Linked DNA regions of Homo sapiens: region 2 is linked to region 1. The links are contacts of gene promoters, found by promoter capture Hi-C in blood cells and fetal thymus (Javierre and others, 2016). All regions are on one chromosome and are shown on one strand. The core of a region is centred on a gene start or on the middle of the fragment in contact, and the rest is flanking DNA. Distances in the headings are between cores, read along the strand shown.

Region 1 (3,450 bases), core at 312-2,811:
ACAGCTGCCAAAAAAAGACTGCAGGGTCATGACCCAAGGTCACAGCGGGTTCTTAGGTTAGGTTATTTTAACTTTTTTTTTTTTTTTTTGAGATGGAGTCTCGCTCTGTCGCCCAGGCTGGAGTGCAGTGGCGCAATCTCTGCTCACTGCAACCTCCGCCTCCTGGGTTCAAGCAATTCTCCTGTCTCAGCCTCCCAAATAGCTGGGATTACGGGCATGTGTCACGACGCTCGGCTAATTTTTGTATTTTTAGTCGAGACGAGGTTCCACCATGTTGGCTAGGCTGGTCTCAAACTCCTGACCTCAGGTGATCCGCCTGCCTCGGCCTCCCAAAGTGTTAGGATTACGGGTGTGAGCCACTGTACCCGGCCGGTTATTTTAACTTTTATCTTTGTACTATTGTGTAAAGCTTCTCAAGATATTGCTGTTGAGTTAATATTCAAGTACTGAGTTCCTGGTGGGAACCTGGCATGCCCATGGCCCATCACACCCTCCCCCATCACCTTGACTGTGACCCCCATGCCTAAGCAGCCCTCAGTTCCTAAGGCTTTCTTCTCTCTCGCACCACGGTGTTCTAATTTTCTGGCCAGAAGCTGGACATCAATATATTCTCCTAACTCTTCAGACTCCGCAAACTCCCACTCAAGCCCCTCCATGAGTCCTCAAGCCTGTCCCTTTCCTAACTTGCCACAGCCCAGACTTGCCTCCCTCTGTCCCACTGTTACATGGACCTGCTTACAGCTCCCTGGCCCTGCCAAATGGGGTGTGGGGGTGGGACAGTGTCACACAGTTCTCTCTCCTTGGAACATTCCCCAACAAACCTGGTCTTTCCAGCTCACCTTTTCACCTGTTCTCATTGCCTTTCCTGGAAGCCAGATGACCCTCCGATCCCATGCACCCTCTCCTGCTGCTGTCCCTGTCTTCACTGTAACTTGTTCATTTACACGCCTGCCCAGTTCAAGTGCCAACTTGATCTTATTTTGTTCCCACAACCCCACGGGTTAGGAACTATCATCGTCCCTGTTTCAAGGAGGAGAAAACTGAGGCAAGGACAGGGAAGTGACATGATCAAGACAGTTAATAAATGACATAACCAGGATTTGAACCCAGGCCATCTGACTGCAAAGCCCACGGCCTGGAATTTCAGGAAGACAATAGAAAGCTAGAAAAGGAAAAAATGAAGTCAGTGGGAAGGAAGTGAGGATGTAAGTTGGTTAGTTAAGGAGGAAGAAAATTAGGCAGCTGAGAAAGCAGATAGTTGGGAGGGAAGGAAGGAAAGGAAGGAGGGAGAAGGGAAAGAAGTCGCCAAGGAAGAAAGGAAGGAAAGAAAGTAAACAGGTACTAGGAAAGATGTTAGCTAGGTAACTAGTCAATCTGGAGACCAATAGGCGAGCAGGCAGGTATCCTGCTCACAGGTGAGCCTCTCACCTGAAAACTCCAGGTTCCTGCTCAGGTCCTGGGGAGCAGCCCCATGCACGGCTCTGCCCTCTTCTCTCTCTTCATGGTCCTTCTGACTGGAGGCACAATCCTGACTTGTCAAGCAACCTTCCCAGTCAGGAATGACCTGTCACCCACTCGCTCCTGGCTCCCAAACCGGCTCAAGTTCAACCTCCCAGCCCTGCCTGCTGGAAGCTGGCTTCGGGGCCTTCCAGTTACTAATTAACCACTGGACCTGAATTACCAAGCTGGCTGCACACACTGGCTCCTGGATGGGCCCTGCCTGGGGGACTCTCTGAATTTTTTAAAGCACAACTTGTTATGTGACCATGGGCAACTGACTTCAGCTCCCTGAGCCTCATGTGAATTGGTGACGGATGGTGTGTCCTGCTGGAGGGACGGTTTCTGAAGTCCCTTTCAACACTGGAACTGCCGCACTCTCTCAAGGTCCAGCTTAAGTGCTGACTCCTACACAGCCTTCCCTGATTCCCTCCGCTGAGTCATCTTCCCTTTCGCTTGGAACCTAGTGAACCAGCAACTGAAAGGTTGGTCTCACACAACACCCTCCTCCACCCCTTCCCTAATGGGGGCCACCAGCCCCTATGTTCAGTCATTTCATGGAAACTTCCAGGACTGGGCAGCTCATTTCCCCCTGAGCCAGCCTCTGGCAATTTCTTGTGTTAAGCCGAAGACTGCCACCCACAGCCTACCCGACCAAGCACTGCCCTGGCACCGTTCTGGGAGAATCACAGCTGAGTTGAAACCTATGCCCCACTCTGCCCTTCAGAGATTTGAGGCTCAGGAACCAGAGATGAGTTCACCCTGGAGAACAGGGAAGGCTTTCTCGGGGGTTGACCCAAAGCTTCCCAGGCCCTGGGTTCTTTTTTTTTTTTCTTTGAGACAGAGTCTCGCTCTGTCACCCAGGCTGGAGTGCAGTGGCGTGATCTCAGCTCACTGCAAGCTCCGCCTCCCAGGTTCACGCCATTCTCCGGCCTCAACCTCCCGAGTAGCTGGGACTACAGGCGCCCACCACCACGCCCAGCTAATTTTTGTATTTTTAGTAGAGATGGGGTTTCACTGCATTAGCCAGGACGGTATCGATCTCCTGACCTTGTGATCTGCCCGCCTCGGCCTCCCAAAGTGCTGGGATTACAGGCGTGAGCCACCGCGCCTGGCCGGCCCTGGGTTCTAACTCAGGGCACAGGCAGGGCCTGGACCCCTGGACAGGTAAGGAAAGCTCTGCCCAGTGACCCCTCCTGAGCAGGCTGACTTTCACACTGCTTCCTCCATTGCCTTTCCATTAAAATGTCAACAACTTTCTGGTAATTCTGGTGCCTTAAACACCGGCTGCTCTGCTGTGCTCCGGAGGAGCCCTGCATGGCCACACACCCCACCTCCACCAACACACATAGCAGCATGTGTCTGGCCCTGGTCCAGATAGGGGAGGTAGCTGGCCCAAGTGCACAGAGCAAATCAGGGCAGCGCACAAGGTCCTGCCCTTTCCAGAGCTCCTGCTGCTGCTGCTGCTGTGCCACCAAGCTCCCTCTCCTCTGCTCTTCCAGAGCTGCTTAAAAAACCCCCAAACACGCCACATACTGGTATTGGTTGCATAAAGTGTATCAAATAATTCCAACTTACAGAAGAATGTCAAATAAAAAGTAAAAGCTTTCCCTCCAGCCCATCTTCAATCTCATTTCCAGAGGCAGCTGCTGTTAACTAAAGGGTGACAATCCGGCTGGGCGCCATGGCTAATGCCTGTAATCCCAGCACTTTGGGAGGCTGAGGTGGGTGGATCACGAGGTCAGGAGATCGAGACCATCCTGGCTAACATGGTGAAACCCCATCTCTACTAAAAATACAAAAAGTTAGCCAGGCGTGGTGGCGAGTGCCTGTAGTCCCAGCTACTCGGGAGGCTGAGGCAGGAGAATGGCATGAACCTGGGAGATGCAGCTTTCAGTGAGCCAAGATCATGCCACTGCACTCCAGCCTGGGCAGCAGAGCAAGACTCCATCT
Region 2 (3,483 bases), core at 183-2,682, 500 kb before region 1:
GTGCCTGGAGATTCCGGGTGTTACCTTGGAGACGAGGCTAGCCCGGTAGGCTGCCAGGGCCTTCAGATATTCCTTCTTTGCTGCTTCTGTCTTCCTCTTGTAGGCCTGGAAGAGTCAACACATGAGCAACACTGGGGAGAAAGTTACAGAGGAGATGCCGTGCAGGGTCCTGGGGTGGGAAGGCATGGATTCAAGGATCACGAATGGACGAGGGTGGTGGGGTCAGAAGCTGAGTCAGCCAGCCACTGGCCCCTTTCTGGGAGCGCTGCAGAGAAATTGTGGAGACCAGGCCATATCCCAGTTCCTCAGCCAAGTCACTGTGTGGCCTTGGCCAACATGCTTCATCTCTCTGGGCCTCCAGGTTCTATCAGCACAACTGATCACAGAAAGACAATGCCCTTTGAAGCCCCCATTCTGAGCCAGCACAGTGCAGATTTCTTAATGCCGAACCACCTTCGCAACCTAGAATGAACCTACTTGTTCATAGTATGTTAGTTTGGATTCGGTTTGCTAATATTTTTTATTAAAAATTTTAGACCTAGGTTCATATGTTATTGTAGGACTGGTCCCAGTTTGTTCGCACCTCCTTGTTTCCATGGCTTTTGGTAGAAACGAGGAGGTGCAAATGACTTGGAGCTTAGCCTTGTGTGACTTGTGTTGGCCAATAAGACAAGCACAAATGTGATGCATGCAGAGACTGACAAAGTGATCACATATTGGTGAGCCCTCTTGCTACTCTTGGAACTCTTATTTAAAAATTTTTTTTGTATATGAATAAGTTCTTTAATGGTGATTTCTGAGATGTTGGTGAACCTACCACCTGAGCAGTGTACACTGTACCTGATGATAGTCTTTTATCCTTCACTACCATCCTTTTCCCCAAGTCCCCAAAGTCCATTGTATCATTCTTATGCCTTTGTGTCCTCATAGCTTAGTTCCCACTTATGAGAACATACAATGTTTGGTTTTCCATTCCTGAGTTACTTCACTTAGAATAATTGTCTCCAATTCCATCCAGGTTGCTGCAAATGCCATTATTTCCTTCCTTTTTATGGCTGAGTAGTATTTCATGGTGTTTGTGTGTGTGTGTGTGTACATATATATGTATATGTGTGTGTGTGTACATATATATGTGTGTATATATATGTAGCACATTTTCTTTACTCATTGATTGATGGGCATTTGGGCTGGTTCCATATTTTTGCAATTGCAAATTGGGCTGCTACAAACATGTGCAAGTATCTTTTTTGTAAAATTTCTTCTCCTCTGGGTGGATACCAAGCAGTGGGATTGCTGGGTCAAACAGTAGATCTACTTTTAGTTCTTTGGGGAATTTCCACACTGTTTTTCACAGTGGATGTACTAGTTTATATTCCCACCAACAGTGTAAAAGTGTTCCCTTTTTGCCACATCCATGCCAACATCTATTTTTTGATTATGGACATTCTTGCAGGAGTAAGGTGGTTTTGATTTGCATTTCCCTGATCATAATGATGTTAAGTATTTTTTAATATGTTTGTTGGCCATTTGTATATTTTCTTTTGAGAATTCTCTATTCATCTCCTTAGCCCAATTTTTGATGGGATTGTTTTTTTCTTGCTGATTTGAGTTCCTTTGTAGATTCTGGATATTAGTCCTTTGTCGAAAGTATAGATTGTGAAGATTTTCTCCCACTCTGTGGGTTGTCTGTTTACCCTGCTGGTTCTTTTGCTGTGCAGCTTTTTAGTTTAATTAAGTCCCATCTATTTACCTTTGTTTTTGTTGCATTTGCTTTTGGGTTCTTGGTCATGAAGTCTTTGCCTAAGCCAATGTCTGTGGAAGGGTTTTTCCAGTGTTATCTTCTAGAATTTTTAGGGTTTCAGGTCTTAGATTTAAGTCTTCCATCCATTTTGAGTTGATTTTTGTATAAGGTGAGAGATGAGGATCCAGTTTCACTCTTCTACATGTGGCTTGCCAATTATCCAAGCACCATTTGTTGAATAAGGTGTCCTTTCCCCACTTCATGTTATTGTTTGCTTTGTTAAAGATCAGTTGGTTGTAAGGATTTGGCTTTATATCTGGGTTCTCTAATCTTTTCCATGGTCTATATGCCTATTTTTATACCAGTACCATGCTGTTTTGGTGACTATGGCCATATAGTTTGAAGTCGGGTAATGTGATGCCTCCAGATTTGTTCTTTTTGCTTAGTCATGCTTTGGCTATGAGGGCTCTTTTTTGATTCCACATGAATTTTAGGATTGTTTTTTCTAGTTCTGTGAAGAATGTTGGTGGTGTTTTGATGGGAATTGCATTTAATTTATAGATTGCTTTTGGCAGTATGGTCATTTTCACACTATTGATTCTACCCATCCATGAGCATGGGATGTGTTTCCATTTGTTTCATCTACGATTTCTTTCAGCAGTGTTTTGTAGTTTTCCTTGTAGAGGTCTTCCACCTCCTTGGTTAGGTATATTCCTAAGTATTTTATTTATTCATTTATTTATTTATTTATTTATTTATTTATTTATTTATTTTGCAGTTAAAGGGGGTTGAGTTCTTGATGTGATTCTCAGCTTGGTCACTGTTGGTGTATAGCAGATCTATTGATTTGTGTACATTAATTTTGTATCTTGAAACTTTGCTGAATTCATTTACCAGTTCTAGGAGCTTTTTGGATGAGTCTTTAGGGTTTTCTAGGTATATGATAATCCCATCAGCAAACAGTGACAGTTTGACTTCCTCTTTACTGATTTGGTGCCCTTTATTTCTTTCTCTTGTCTGATTGCTCTGGCCAGGACTTCCAGTACTGCATCGAATAAATGGGCATCCTTGTCTTGTTCTAGTTCTCAGGGGGAATGCTTTCAACTTTTCCCCATTCAGTGTAATGTTGGCTCTGGATTTATCATAGATGGCTTTTATTACCTTAAGGTATGTCCCTTCTATGCCGATTTTGCTGAGGGTTTTAATCAAAGGGATGCTCAATTTTGTCAAATGCTTTTTCTGTGTCTATTGAGATGATCATGTGGTTTTAAATTCTGTTTATGTGGTATATCACATTTATTGACTCGTGTATGTTAAACCATCCCTGCATCCATGGTATGAAACCCACTTGATCATGGTGGATTATCTTTCTGATACAACATTGGATTCAGTTAGCTAGTATTGTACTGAGGATTTTTGCATTCATGTTCATCTAGGTATACAATCATATCATCAGCAAACAGCAACACTTTGACTTCCTCTTTACAGATTTGGATGCTCTTTCTTTCTCTTGTCTGATTGCTCTGGCTAGGAATTCCAGTACTCTGTTGAATAGAAGTGGTAAGAGTGGGCATCCTTGTCTTGTTCCAGTTCTCAAGGGGAATGCTTTCAATTTTTCCCCATTCACTATAATGTTGGCTCTGGTTTATCATAGATGGCTTTTATTACCTTGAAGTATATCCCTTCTATGCTGATTTTGGGCATAGAAGGAATACTGGCCTGCAGTTTTCGTTTTTTTGTTG

The links. Contacts are between HindIII fragments. The CHiCAGO score rates a contact against its expected background, and 5 or more counts as called.
Region 2: a fragment that was not itself captured here is called in contact with the fragment with the promoter of SGK2 in region 1 in 5 of 17 cell types (M1 macrophages, endothelial precursors, megakaryocytes and 2 more); the score reaches 6.8 in M1 macrophages.

The regions. Positions count from the first base shown.
Region 1 is chr20:43,557,138-43,560,587 of GRCh38, reverse strand. It overlaps SGK2 (serum/glucocorticoid regulated kinase 2), which reads right to left and starts at 1,561. Exons shown (of 13, transcript NM_170693.3): 1 at 1,429-1,561. The HindIII fragment of the contact is 1,890 bases long and covers 412-2,301 here.
Region 2 is chr20:44,061,399-44,064,881 of GRCh38, reverse strand. TOX2 (TOX high mobility group box family member 2) reads right to left here. Exons shown (of 9, transcript NM_001098797.2): 6 at 25-105. Among named protein-coding and RNA genes, the nearest start is that of JPH2, 120 kb to the left of the region's middle. The HindIII fragment of the contact is 7,560 bases long and covers 1-3,483 here.